Linked DNA regions of Homo sapiens: regions 2, 3, 4 and 5 are each linked to region 1. Evidence: promoter capture Hi-C in human tissues and cell types (Jung and others, 2019). All regions are on one chromosome and are shown on one strand. The core of a region is centred on a gene start or on the middle of the fragment in contact, and the rest is flanking DNA. Distances in the headings are between cores, read along the strand shown. Region 1 holds the start of LAT2 (linker for activation of T cells family member 2). Region 2 has its middle 32 kb from the start of GTF2IRD1. Region 3 overlaps CLIP2 (CAP-Gly domain containing linker protein 2). Region 4 has its middle 12 kb from the start of GTF2IRD1. Region 5 overlaps ELN (elastin).

Region 1 (2,700 bases), core at 87-2,586:
CTCCTGCCTCAGCCTCCAAAAATGTTAGGATTGCAGGTGCAAGCCACTGCACCTGGCCTCTATCTCCCTGTTTCTTGCTCTCTCCCCATCTGTGTGTGTCTCTGACAGTCTGTGGCTCTCTGTATCTTTCTGTGTGTCTCTCTGTGTGTGTCTTGGTCCATCTCATGCCCAGCTAATTTTTAAATTTTTTGTAGAGATGGGGTTTCACCATGTTGGCCAGGCTGGTCTTGAACTCCAGACCTCAGGTGATTCTCCTGCTTCAGCCTCCCAAAGTGTTGGGATTACAGGCATGAGCCACCGTGCCTGGCCCATGGGTATGAATTTCTGCCTGTGTGTGTCTTCTTCTTTTTTTTTTTTTTTTTGAGATGAAGTCTTGCTCTGTCACCCAGGCTGGAGTGCAGTGGCGCTATCTTGGCTCACTGCAACCTCCACCTCCTGGGTTCAAGCAATTCTCCTGCCTCAGCCTCCCGAGTAGCTGGGATTACAGGCACCCGCCACCACACCCAGATAATTTTTGTATTTTTGGTAGATATGGGGTTTCACCATGTTGGTCAGGCTGGTTTTGAACCCCTGACTTCATGACCTGCCTGCCTTGGCCTCCCAAAGTGCTGGGATTACAGGCATGAGCCACCGCGCCCGGCCCATGGGTGTGAATTTCTGCCTGTGTGTGTCTTTTTAGCGTATGTGTGTCTCCATATCTGCCATCTGCAGGAGCACCTCAGTTTCATTATCTTGCTCCCTGTCTATTGGAGTGTATCTCTCTTCCTCTCTGTGTGACTTTTTGTGTTTATGTGTGTGTTTAGTGTGTGTCCATATTTTCCTGTTCTCTTGTGTCTCTCTGCTGTGTCTCTCTCTTTTTCTTTCTGTTTTTTGAGACGGAGTCTCCCTCTGTCACCCAGGCTGGAGTGCAGTGGTGCGATCTCGGCTCACTGCAACCTCTGCTTCTGAGGTTCAAACGATTCTCCTGCCTCAGCCTCCCGAGTAGCTGGAATTACAGACACATGCCACCATGCCCAGCTAATTTTGTATTTTTAATAGAGACGGGGTTTCACCATGTTGGCCAGGCTGGTCTTAAACTCTTGACCTTACGTGATCCACCCGCCTCGGCCTCCCAAAGTTTTTGGATTACAGGTGTGAGCCACCTCGCCCGGTCCTATCTCTCTTTCTTCTCTTTCTCCCTCTCACTTTGTTTCTCTTCTCTCTCTCTCTCCCGCCTCCTTCCCCCGTCTCCCCTCCCTTCCCCCCACCGCCCTCTTCATAGCTGAGCCTGTCCGGCAGTGCGGCGGATGTACGGATGATTCAGTGGCTGGCAGGAAGCCCGCCCTGCCCGCCCGCCAGTGTCAGTGGTGTTGGCATCAGCTTGGGCAGGTGTGCGGGCTCAGGATGGGGCGGCCGTGGTGAGGAACCCTGGACTCTCAGGTAAGCCTTTCCCAGGGGTGCCTCAGTCCTCAGGCTGTCCCCCATCCCCCAGGAGCTCCTGGCCCCACTGGGTGGGGTGGGAAGAGGCCTGGATGCCTGGCGCCCCCTCCCGCAGCCCCACTCTCACCCTGGCACCAGGCTCTGTGGCACTTCAGGGGTCAGTTTGTTTCTGGGCTTCTGGCCACTCTCTTGCCCTCGCCTTCCCCTGTCCAGCCTGTGTAGCCTTGGGACATCCCAGGGTGGTCCCATCATTGCCAGAGACTGGTGAAGTAAGTGGCCGAGAGCCAAAACAGTGGCTGCCCTGGCCTGGGAGCCTCGGTTTCCTCATCCGTGAAATGGGACTGTAACCCCCTACACAGGTCAGGGGAAAACGGTGGGATTACAGGCCAGGGCCCAGGTCTTGCCCCAGGTCAGGTGAAGAACCCCCACTGCCTCCCTGCCCAGCCCCCTACCTGGCCCTCAACTCTGTCCCTGGGACCAGGGCTGCTCAGGCCCCTCCTGCACCCGCCCGCCTCCCTCTCTCCCTCCCAGCTAGGCTCATTTGAAGCCCAGAGTTATTTGGAAAAAGCAACAGGACCAGCCGGGCACGGTGGCTCAACCTGTAATCCCAGCATTTGGGGAGGCCAAGGCGGGAGGATCATTTGAAGTCAGGAGCTGGAGACCAGCCTGAGCAACATAGTGAGACTCCCATCTCTTTAAAAAATAAAAATAAAAAAATATAATTAAAAACTAAATGAAAAAACCAACAGACCCCAGAGCAGAGTCCAGTGGATAAAGCCATCCAGGGCTTCAAGCCAGGCTGCCCCCTCCCCAACCCCAGTGTCCCCAACCACAGCTCAGCTCGGAGAAGGCTGGGAGAACCGGCAGGGTGGTCTCGAGCGTCCTTCCAGGCGGGATTCAGACACTGTAGCTCCTCCAGCCCAGCCCCGAGAACTTCCCCGAAGCCAGCTCTTGGCAATCGTTGTTCATATGAAAACTGCCCACTTCCCTTTAGTGCTATTTTGGCCTCTGCAGAACCGTGGTCTGTGGCAGCCCCCACTCCCCACCCCGCCCAGCCCTGCCGGCCCCTGGGGGCCTCAGAGGGTCCACCCTCCGCTCCCTCCACCTCAGCCCACCTGCTTTCAGAACCTGGATGGGAGAGTGAAAGTGAGAGCGAGACAGAGACACAAAGGGAGACAGAGACAGAGAGAGAGCACAGAATTTTTTTAAACGGAGTCTCACTCTGTTGTCCAGGCTGGAGTGCAGTGGCGTGATCTCGGCTCACTGCAACCTCCACCTCCC
Region 2 (2,700 bases), core at 159-2,658, 210 kb after region 1:
TTTCTTTTTCTTTCCTTCCTTCTTTCTTTCTCTTTCTTCTTTCTCTTTCTTTCTCTCTTTCTCTCTCTTTCTTTCTTTCTCTTTCCTCCCTTCCTTTATCTCTTTTTCTTTCTTTCTTTTTCCTTCTTTATTTTGAAGTGGAGTCCCGCTCTGTCACCCAAGCTGGAGTGCAGTGGCGCAATCTCTGTTCACTGCAACCTCTGCTTCCCGTGTTCAAGCGATTCTCCTGCCTCAGCCTCCCAAGTAGCTGGGATTACAGGCATGCGCCACCACGCCCAGCTAATTTTGTATTTTTAGTAGAGTCAGGGTTTCACCATGTTGGTTAGGCTGGTCTCAACTCCTAACCTCAGGTGATCCACCCAGAATTGTTTTCTTTAAAACAACTTTTCTGTACTGGACATGGTGGCTCACACCTGTAATCTGGCACTTTGGGAGGTCGAGGCGGGAGGATTGCTTGAGCTTAGGAGTTCGAGACCAGCCTGGGCAACATGGTGAAACCCCAGGCATGGCGGCACATGTCTGTAATCCCAGCTACTGGGGAGGCTGACGTGGGAGGATCACCTGAGTCCAGGAGGCCGAGGCTGCAGTGAGCCATGATCATGCCACTGCCCTCCAGCCTGGATGACAGAGCGAGACCCTGTCTCAAATAAATAAATAATAAATAAATAAATAAAGCTGTTTTTCTTTCTTTCTTTCTTTCTTTCTTTCTTTCTTTCTTTCTTTCTTTCTTTCTTTCGTTTGTTCTTTCTTTCCTTCCTTCTTTCTTTCTTTTATTTCAGTCCTCTTTACTTGAAAGTTTATCTCTTGTTCAGAAAATAAATATGGGCCAGGTGCGGTGGCTCATGCCTGTAATCCTAGCACTCTGGGAGGCTGAAGCAGGAGGCTCACTTGAGCCCAGGAGCTGGAGATCAGTCTGGGCAACATAGTGAGACACTGTATCTTTTTGGGGATTTTTTGGACAGAGTCTTGCTCTGTCGCCAGGCTGGAGTGCAGTGGCGTGACCTTGGCCCTCGGCTCACTGCAACCTCTGCCTCCTGAGATCAACTGATTCTCCTGCCTCAGCCTCCTGAGTAGCTGGGACTACAGGTGTGCGCCACCACACCCAGCTAATTTTTTTGTATTTTTAGTAGAGACAGGGTTTCACCATGTTGGCCAAGATGGTCTCAATCCCTTGACCTCGTGATCCCCCTGTCTCGGCCTCCCAAAGTGCTGGGATTACAGGCACGAGCCATCACGCCCTGCCTGACCCCCAGTATCTTCTTAAAGAAAAAAGAAGAAAAGAAAAGAAACAAGATATTCTTTCTCCCTAATGCCAGTTCTTCATCTGCGGTCCCCTTCTCTGCACCGTCTCTCTGTCTCCTGGGTGGTCATCTCCATCTTCTCAGACTTACGTCTTTAATGTTTGTATTTTTAATCTTTTAATCCCAGACCTGAGGCATTGATCATCTATCTTCTTAAATCACATTTATTTTGTCACTTTATCATTATTTTAAACCTCTTAACTTTTATCTCTTGTGGAGAGTAACTTTTAAGACCAACTTCATAGCTTTTCATTTTAATTTTGTATTTGCTGATTTTAACTTTGTAATACACATTAGCCCTCTCATTTATAAGGTATTCATCTTATTGGTGCTGCTAGTCTTTTAATTTCTTTTATCTGAACTATTTTTCATGATTATAAAGAAAACTCTTGATTTTAAATCTTTGCTGGCTTTTTTTTTTTTTTTTTTTTTGAGACACAGTCTCACTCCATCGCCCATGCTGGAGTGCAGTGGAGTGATCTTGGCTCACTGCAACCTCTGCCTCCTGGGTTCAAGCAATTCTCCTGCCTCAGCCTCCCACATAGCTGAGAATACAGGCATGCGCCACCACGCCCAGCTGATTTTTGTATTGTTAGTAGAGGTGGGGTTTCACCATGTTGGCCAGGCTGGGCTCCAACTCCTGACCTCAAGTGATCCGCCCTCCTTGGCCTCCCAAAGTGCTGGGATTACAGCCGTGAGCCACCATGCTTGGCCTGGCTCTTTCATATCCTGAGCCTGAAAGTCCTTTTTTTTCTCAGTGATTACTTTTTAATCTTCCAGGCATTCATTCAATCCTCACAAAACTCTATGTGGCCACCCCTGTTTGTGTGTTGTTGTTGTTGTTTTTGTTTTTTTTTAGAGACAGGCTCTCACTCTGTCGCCAGGCTTGAGTACTGTGGTGTAATCATCACTCTGCAGCCTCGACCTCCCGGGCTTAAGCGATCCTCCTGCCTCAGCCTCTTGAGTAGCTGGGACTACAAGCACACACCACCACACACAGCTAATTTTTAAATTTTTTGGCCAGGTGCTGTGGCTCATGCCTGTAATCCCAGTGTTTTGGGAGGCTGAGGTGGGAGGATTGTTTGAGCCCAGGAGTTCAAAGCCAGCCTGGGAGACATAGCAAGACCCTGGTCTCTATGAAAAAAAAAGTTATATGTATAACAGGCCAAGGTGGGCTCTGTTGTCAGGCTGGAGTGCAGTGGCGCAGTCTTGGCTCACTGCGACCTCCGACTCTCAGGTTCAAGCGACTCTTCTGCCTCAGCCTCCCGAGTAGCTGGGACTACAGGTGCACGCCACCACGCCCATCTAATTTTCACATTTTTAGTAGAGACAGGGTTTCACCATGTTGGCTAGGACGGTCTTGATCTCTTGACCTCGTGATCCACCCACCTCAGCCTCC
Region 3 (2,700 bases), core at 99-2,598, 190 kb after region 1:
CCTGCTAATTTTTGTACTTTTAGTAGAAATGGGGTTTTACCATGTTGACCAGGCTGGTCTCGAACTCCTGACCTCAGGTGATCTGCCTGCCTCGGCCTCCCAAAGTGCTGGGATTACAGGCGTGAGCCACCAGGCTCGGTCTCTGTCTCTTTTTTTAATTATTTTTAAAGGCAAGGCTGGGCGCAGTGGCTCATGCCTGTAATCCCAGCACTTTGGGAAGCCGAGGCGGGTGGATCACGAGGTCAGGAGATTGAGACCATCCTGGCTAACACGGTGAAACCACGTCTCTACTAAAAATAGGAAAAAATTAGCGGGGCGTGGTGGTGGGCCCCTCCCAGCTACTCAGGAGGCTGAGGCAGGAGAATGGCATGAACCCGGGAGGCGGAGCTTGCAGAGACCCAAGATCGCGCCACTGCACTCCAGCCTAGGTGATAGAGCGAGACTCTGTCTCAAAAAAAAAAAAAAAAAAAAAGTCAAGAGGGATGGGGTCCTGGGTTCCCCACTTGGAGACCATGGAGCACCTCACAGAGGCCTGAGGGACCTCTGGGTGATGCCCAGGCTTGGAACCCAGAGACAAAGTGAGGCTGGAAGACTTTCCTGCCTAGAGTTGAGACGCCCACCAACACACACACGCACACTCATGTACTCTTCCACTCTCCTGCCACTTCCAGGACAAAGAGAAATCCCTGTCGGATCAGAGGCGCTACTCCCTCATCGACCGGTCCTCGGCGCCCGAGCTTCTGCGGCTGCAGCACCAGCTGATGAGCACGGAGGACGCCCTGCGGGATGCGCTGGACCAGGCTCAGCAGGTGGAGAAGCTGATGGAGGCCATGAGGAGCTGCCCTGACAAGGCCCAGGTGAGCCGCGGCTGACAGGGCCCACCAGGAGGCAAGCCACGGGGCAGTGTCCTCGGAGCCCCCGTCTGATGCGGGAGGCAGCCTTGTCTTTAAAACCCCAGTCTGAGGAGGTAGGGAGCTCGTCCCAGGAACCTGGTCTGAAGGGGGAGGTAGCCCTGTCCCAGAAACCCTGGTTTGAAGAAGGAGGCAGCTCTGTCCTGGGAACCCCAGTCTGAAGGGGGAGGCAGCCCTGTCTCAGGAACCCGGGTCTGAATGGGGAGGTAGCTCTGTCCCGGGAACCCCTGGTCTGAAGGGGGAGGCAGCTCTGTCCCAGGAACCCTGATGTGAAGGGGGAGGCAGCTCTGTCCCAGAAGCCCCCGGTCTGAAGGGGGAGGTAGCTCTGTCCCGGGAACCCTAGTCTGAAGGGGGAGGCATTTCTGTCCTAGGAACCTTGATCTGAAGGGAGAGGCAGCTCTGTCCTGGGAACCCTAGTCTGAAAGGGAAGGCATCTCTGTCCCGGGAACCTTGATCTGAAGAGGGAGGCAGCTCTGTCCCGGAACCCTGGTCTGAAGGGGGAGGCAGCTCTGTCCCGGGAACCCTGGTCTGAAGGGGGAGGTGGCGCTGTCCCAGGAACCTCCATCAGAAATGGGAGGCAGCCCTGGCCCAGGAACCCTGATCTAAAGCGGGAGGCAGCTCTGTCCTGGGAACCCAGCTGAAAGGGGAGGGAGCCCTGCCCTCTGGAACCCCCAGTTCAAGGGGCACATGGCTTTGCCCTGAGGAGCTTAGACTAAGAAGGAAGATGCAGCCTTACCCCTAGAGGCTTGGTCTTTGGGGGTGCTGGGAGCCCCAGGCTGAAGGGGTTGGAATTTGGAGCCTGAGACGGTCCCATGGGAAGACCTCGCCATCTAGTGGGAAAATCGGGAACTGCTGCCTGGTGCACCTGGCTCAGTGTCTCCCCTAACTCTTCCAGACCATCGGCAATTCCGGTTCTGCAAACGGCATCCACCAGCAGGACAAAGCTCAGAAACAAGAGGTGAGGGGCGCCTCGGGCCTCCCAGGTCCCTCCCGTGCAGGCAGACCTCTCTGGAGAAAATCCTTGAAACGTCACTAAGAATACACACAAAGATGCATTCTGCAAGAAGCTTTACAGTAGGGTCCCTCAGGGAGGGTGCTGTTGCAGGCAAACTTGATTCCAGATTCACCCTGCTCTTTTTGATTTGTGTTTTCTTCCCTTCTTAAAAAAGTTATAGGTTGGGCGCAGTGGCCCACGCCTGTAACCCCAGCACTTTGGGAGGCCAAGGCAGGAGGATCATTTGAGCCCAGGAGTTTGAGACCAGCCTGGCCAATATGGTAAAACTCCGTCTCTACTGAAAATACAAAATTAGCCGGGTAGGGTGGACAATATAGCGAGACCCTCTCTCTATTAAAAAAAAAAAATTTTAAAAAGGCTGGGCACAGTGGCTCATGTCTGTAATCCCAACACTTTGGGAGGCCGAGGCCGGTGGGTCACTTGAGGTCAGGAATTTGAGACCAGCCTGGCCAATATGGTGAAACTCCATCTGGCGGGCGGATCACAAGGTCAGGAGATCAAGACCATCCTGGCTACCACGGTGAAACCCCATCTCTACTAAAAATACAAAAAAAAATTAGCTGGGCGTGGTGGCGGGCACCTGTAGTTCCAGCTACTCTGGAGGCTGAGGCAGGATAATGGCATGAACCCGGAAGGCGGAGCTTGCAATGAGCCGAGATCGCGCCACTGGACTCCAGCCTGGGCGACAGAGCGAGACTCCATCTCAAAAAAAAAAAAAACCAAAAAAAAAAAAAAATACAAAATTAGCTGGGTAGGGTGGCGCACACCTGTAAT
Region 4 (2,700 bases), core at 27-2,526, 230 kb after region 1:
GGAAGGAAGGAGAGAAAAGAGGCCCTGCTCTAGGCAGATACTGTAGTGGGGTGCTAAGCCTGATGAGCTGACCAGTGGGGGCAGGTCCACTCCACTGAGACTTGGTGAGCTGAGTGTATCTGCACTTGAGCTTCCAGTTTGACCCTGGAGCACAGTCTGCCTAACCCCTAAGCCCTGGCTCAGCAGGTCCCCAGGCTGAGATCTAGACATCCGCTATGTCTGTCCTCTCAGGTTCCTGGAATGCTTTCCCCCTGGGCCACTTAAGATACAGGGGTCTGGGGCAGGGGCCAGGTCGTGCTCCTGACCTCAGGTGATCTGCCCACCTTGGCCTCCCAAAGTGCTGGGATTACAGGCATGAGCCACCGCGCTTGGCCTAAATTAACACTTTCATCTTTGATGCACCCTCTGGTCCCATGACTGCCTGGGCATTCCCAAGGTCCCTCCCCCAAAACTTTCCTTTTTCCTTTTCTCAGGAGTCCCCTTCTACACTCTAGTTATGTCACTGCAGAGGCCTTCTCTGTCACATGCACCTCTCAAGGGGCTGGTGGAGAGAGGCAGGCAGCTCAGGGACAGCGGGGCTATGGGGACAACTTCCAGATCATAGAGACGGGAGCCTTGTGCCTCTTTAAAAAAAATTTTGTTTTGACCAGGCATGGTGGCTTATGCCCGCAATCCCAGCATTTTGGGAGGCCAAGGCAGGAGGATTGCTTGAGGCCAGGAGTTCAAGACCAGCCTGGGCAACATGGTGAGACCCCCATCTCTGCAAAAAATACAAAAAGCTGGTCATGGTGGTGTGCATATGGTCCTGGCTGCTCAGGAGATTGGGGTGGGAGGATGGCTTAAGCCTGAGAGTTTGAGGCTGCAGTGAGCTGTGATCGCACCACTACACTCCACTAGGTACCCGAATTGAGACCCTATCTCAAAAAATTTTATTTTTTGGATTGGAAGCAGTGGCTCATGCCTGTAATCTCAACACTTTGGGAGGCTGAGACAAGAGGATCACTTGAGGCCAGGACTTCAAGACCAGCCTGGGCAACATAGCCAGACCCTGTCCCTAAAAAAATTTGTAAATTAGCCAGGCGTGGGGATGCATGCCTGTAGTACAAGCTACTCAGGAGGCTGAGGCGGGAAGATCACTTGAGCCCAGGAGTTTGAGGCTGCAGTGATCTATGATTTCGCCACTGCATTTCAGCTGGGGTGACGGAGTGAGATTCTGTCTCTAAAAAACATTTTAAGCCACACAAACACCACTTAAGTGTCTGTCCACCCCTGCGAGGAGCTGAGGTGGTCCCTGTAGTCCTGACCAGCTTCCTAGTTCCTGGAGGATCCCCAGGTTGGGCTAAGTCCTCAGGGCCAGGGTCACCTGGGAGGGTAGGGGGTAGGCTGTCCCTGGGCTGGGGGCCTCAGCTGAGGGATCAGAAACAGGTCATCTGCGAGCTTTCCCGGGGCTCTGAGAAGTCATGGCCCCACCGCCTCCATGTGAGCCTGCATTCTCTGCTCATTTATTTATTTTCAGAGCAGGAAAGTGGATTTGAAACGCTCCTTCTGAATGTTTACCCCTGGGGGAATGTCGGGTTTATGAATAATGCAGCATGTCAGGGACTGGGGGCCCCGTCGGGCTCCATCCTGTCCCAGGAAGGCTGGGAAGTTGCCACAGACGGGCCCTGGACAGATTCCTGCCCCACCACTTGCTGCTCTGTGAGTCTCGGCGAGTCTCTCTAAGACTCAGTGTCCCCAGCTATAAAACAGGGGAGTAGCCAGGTGCAGTGGCTCATGCCTGTAATCCCAGCACTTTGGGAGGTCGAGGCGGGTGGATCATTTGAGGTCAGGAGTTGGAGACCAGCCTGGCCAATATGGTGAAACCCTGTCTTTACTAAAAATACAAAAATTAGCAGGGCATGGTGGTGTGTGCCTGTAGTCCCAGCTACTCTGGAGGCTGAGGCAGGAGAATCGCTTGAACCCAGGAGGCAAAGGTTGCAGAGAGTCGAGATCGTGCCACTGCACTCCAGCCTGGGCAACAGAGTGAGACTCTGTCTCAAAAAAAAAAAAAAAAAAAAAAACAAACAAAAAAAAAAAACAAGGGTGTCTGGCCAAGCACGGTTGGCTCATGCCTGCAATCCCAGGACTTTGGGAGGCCAAGGAGGGAGGATCACTTGAGTCTAGGAGGTCAAGACCAGCCTGGGCTGGCTGGGCACTGTGGCTCACGCCTGTAATCCCAGCACTTTGGGAGGCCAAGGCAGGAGGATTGCTTGAGGCCAGGAGGTCAAGACCAACTTGGGCAACATAGCGAGACCCCATCACTACAAAAAATACAAAAATTAGCTGGGCGTGATGGCATGCATGTGGTCTCAGCTGCTCAGGGGACTGGGGTGGGAGGATGGCTTTAGCCTGGAAGGTTGAGGCTGCTGTGAGCTGTGATTGCGAGGATTGCTTGAGCCCAAGAGTTTGAGACCAGCCTGGGCAATAAAGCAAGACCTCATCTCTAAAAAAAAATAAAAAAAATAAAAAAATTTCTTTTTTAAATTACTTTATTTTATTTATTTATTTTTTTTGAGATAGTCTCACGCTGTCGCCCAGGCTGGAGTGCAGTGGCGCTATCTGGGCTCACTGCAATCTCCACTTCCCGGGTTAAAGTGATTCTTCTGCCTCAGCTTCCCCAGTAGCTGAGACTATAGGCATGTGCCACCGTGCCTGGCTAAT
Region 5 (2,700 bases), core at 181-2,680, 170 kb before region 1:
CCAACACCCTGAGCACTAGCCAGAGGCCAGCCGCCCACTGAGAGGGGCACGGGCATGGACAAGAAGGAACTGGGAGCACCCACTGTGTGCCCTGGGTAGGTTGCACAACTAGGTGCTTTCTGCACACATGCTCACTGGTCCCAGCAAGGCAGGTGATATAATGGCCATTTTGTAGATGGCAAAAACTAAGCCTCATCGGAGAGGCAAATTGACCTGCTTGTGCTCATGGAGGCTGGGTAGCAGCAGCAGGGTCTGAATCTAGAACTCTCTGACTCTAGAAAGAAGGAGGATGGAGCTGGCCAGGTCCCTGGACTCCCAGCTGTGGTCAGCCCCTCCCCGCTTTCTCCTCCTTTCCAGATGCTAGAATCCTTGGGGCATTTGGGGCAGGTGAGTGCAAAGGAAGGAGGGCAGGCAGAGACAGAAGTGGTCAGGCCACATGACAGGATGCTCAGGCTGGGATCATGGGAAAAAGGAAGATGGCCCCAGAGAAGCTGCCTGCCCCCCACTGCAGCCCCAGCCTCTTCTCACTTCCTGTGCAGTCCTCAGCTTCCCCTCCCAGCCCCTCTGTGGACAGGAAAGGTCTGAGCATGTCCCTTGCCCTCTCAGAGCTCAGGAAACATGCCTGGCTTGAGAGAAGCGACTGCCAGCGCAGGTGGGTCTGGCCCGGGTGCTGGGAAGTGACTCCTGCCTGATCGCCAGGCACTCCCGCCCGGAGGCAAAGATGCTTCTTACATGAGGCTGGCTGAGTTTCAGAGGGGTCCAGCTCCCACTAGTAGGAAATGAGGGACGAGGAGTGGTTAGTAACGGAGACCACACCCAGGGAAAGCCAGGGGGGACCTCTCCAGGGTACAGCAGGCTCCATGTTTGGGATCCATCCCTGGAGAGGACTCACCCCTGAGGCTCAGGACTAGCACTTGTAGGAGAGATCGTCACATAATTAGAAACAAACCTGGCATGGTTGTGAACTCTGACCTGATGGCCCATTGGTCCTGGCCAAGGCAGTGGAATGTCTCCCGCAGTGGGAGACGAAGCGATTGGGCCCAGATGTGGGGAGGAGAGAGCCAGAGGGACCCATTTGGCGTCTCATAAACATCTTAGTAGGAGGCTCCTGGGCTGCAGGGCAGGCTGGATGGAAGGACAGATGGGTAGTGGGGACACAGGAGTTCCCCGATGCAGGTGAAGGGGAGGGGACTGAGTCAAGAGATATCTGCAAGGAAGCAGAAGAGAGACCTCACTGGCCTGGGGTGAGGTCTCGCTCACGGACTCTGCTCTGTCCCAGCCCTTGCTGAAAGCCCTGCTGAATCTTGTTAGCCAGCAGGGCTTCTAGGAGAAGCACAGGCCTGGCCCAGGCTTGTTAGGGATCGGTGCAATGACACCTGCACTGCACATAGTAGTCGCTCACTAAACTACTGGTGGATGCTATTTTATCAGGATCGACCCTGAGCATCACAGGCTTAGGGACCAGCCTAGGGACCTGAGTGGCTGATCACAGCACTGCCCTAACTCCAGGAGACATTTCCCACTCTGGGCCTAGGAACACTGCCTACACTCCTGTCTCTGTTTCTTATCCACAGTTCCCGGAGGGCTTGCGGGTGCTGGCCTTGGGGCAGGTGAGTGCTGACACCCAAGAAAGATATCCCCTGTGGGGACCAGCCCCTGAGCTCAACCCAGGGCTGGTATGCAGCACGGTCATGGAACAAGGGTGCAGGCCAGGTTCCGTCCTGGGCACTGACGGGGACTGATGCTGATACCAACTGCCCCAAGCAGCTGCCCAGGACATGAGGAAATCACAGCTGAGTACCTGGGTTCCTTTATAACATAGTAGTGAAGGCTGCATGGAGGAAGCCCCATGGACCAAGGAAGCCCAAGGGAGTCGCTTAACTCAGCAGGGGTTCAGGAAGGCATTCTAGAGGAGGTGGGTGGGGAAATTTGACCCCAAAAGATCCATGCAGTTTTCAGGAAGGCTGAAGTGAGAGGATCCCTTGAGCCCAGGAGGCTGAGGCTTCAGAGAGCTATGATCATGTCACTGCACTCCAGCCTGGGCGACAGAGAAAGACCTCATCTCTTTTGTTGTTCTTGTTGTTGTTGAGACAGAGTCCCACTCTGTCACCCAGGCTGGAGTGCAGTGGCTCAGTCTCAGCTCCCCGCACCTGGTGCAGTTGATCTCAGCTCACCACAACCTCCACCTCCCCGGTTCAAGTGATTCTTGTGTCTCAGCCTCCCAAATAGCTGGAATTACCAGTGTGCACCACCACGCTCGGCTAATTTTTGTATTCTTAGTAGAGACGGGGTTTCACCATGTTGGCCAGGCTGGTCTCGAACTCCTGGCCTCAAGTGATCCACTCACCTCGGCCTCCCAAAGTGCTGGGATGACAGGCTCAAGCCACCGTGCCCAGCCACAAGACCCCATCTCTAAAGGGAAAAAAAAAAAAAGAGCCATGCAGTTTTGTCAGAGCTGTCTAACACATTAACCTCGGCACACAATCTAGTTCTGGTACTTAGGCGCGGTGGCTCACGCCTGTAATCCTAGCACTTTGGGAGGCTGAGACGGGCAGATGGCTTGAGCCCAGGAGTTCGAGACCAGCCTGGGCAACATGGTAAAATCTTGTCACTACAAAAAATACAAAAAAAAAAAAATTTGCCGGGCACAGTGGCATGCACCTGTAGTTCCACCTACTTGGAAGGCTGAGGCGGGAGGAT

What was found. The method cuts DNA at HindIII sites, captures the fragments that hold promoters and counts their contacts. A contact is called where the count stands out against the background at its distance.
Region 2: a fragment that was not itself captured here is called in contact with the fragment with the promoter of LAT2 in region 1 in 9 of the 25 tissues and cell types used here (IMR-90 fibroblasts, aorta, bladder and 6 more).
Region 3: a contact is called between a fragment that was not itself captured here and the fragment with the promoter of LAT2 in region 1, in 11 of the 25 tissues and cell types used here (IMR-90 fibroblasts, bladder, dorsolateral prefrontal cortex and 8 more).
Region 4: a contact is called between a fragment that was not itself captured here and the fragment with the promoter of LAT2 in region 1, in 1 of the 25 tissues and cell types used here (lymphoblastoid cells).
Region 5: a contact is called between a fragment that was not itself captured here and the fragment with the promoter of LAT2 in region 1, in 2 of the 25 tissues and cell types used here (mesenchymal stem cells and spleen).

Annotation. Positions count from the first base shown.
Region 1 is chr7:74,208,670-74,211,369 of GRCh38, forward strand. LAT2 (linker for activation of T cells family member 2) reads left to right here and starts at 1,337. Exons shown (of 14, transcript NM_032464.3): 1 at 1,337-1,419. RefSeq lists enhancers at 821-930, 2,151-2,270 and silencers at 1,211-1,260, 2,371-2,460. The HindIII fragment of the contact is 33,709 bases long and covers 1-2,700 here.
Region 2 is chr7:74,420,175-74,422,874 of GRCh38, forward strand. No RefSeq gene overlaps it. Among named protein-coding and RNA genes, the nearest start is that of GTF2IRD1, 32 kb to the right of the region's middle. The HindIII fragment of the contact is 8,329 bases long and covers 1-2,700 here.
Region 3 is chr7:74,399,699-74,402,398 of GRCh38, forward strand. CLIP2 (CAP-Gly domain containing linker protein 2) reads left to right here. Exons shown (of 17, transcript NM_003388.5): 15 at 672-857; 16 at 1,807-1,869. Among named protein-coding and RNA genes, the nearest start is that of GTF2IRD1, 53 kb to the right of the region's middle. The HindIII fragment of the contact is 5,500 bases long and covers 1-2,700 here.
Region 4 is chr7:74,440,413-74,443,112 of GRCh38, forward strand. No RefSeq gene overlaps it. Among named protein-coding and RNA genes, the nearest start is that of GTF2IRD1, 12 kb to the right of the region's middle. The HindIII fragment of the contact is 3,945 bases long and covers 1-2,700 here.
Region 5 is chr7:74,039,642-74,042,341 of GRCh38, forward strand. It overlaps ELN (elastin), which reads left to right. Exons shown (of 33, transcript NM_000501.4): 5 at 1,575-1,610. Among named protein-coding and RNA genes, the nearest start is that of ELN, 13 kb to the left of the region's middle. The HindIII fragment of the contact is 4,659 bases long and covers 1-2,700 here.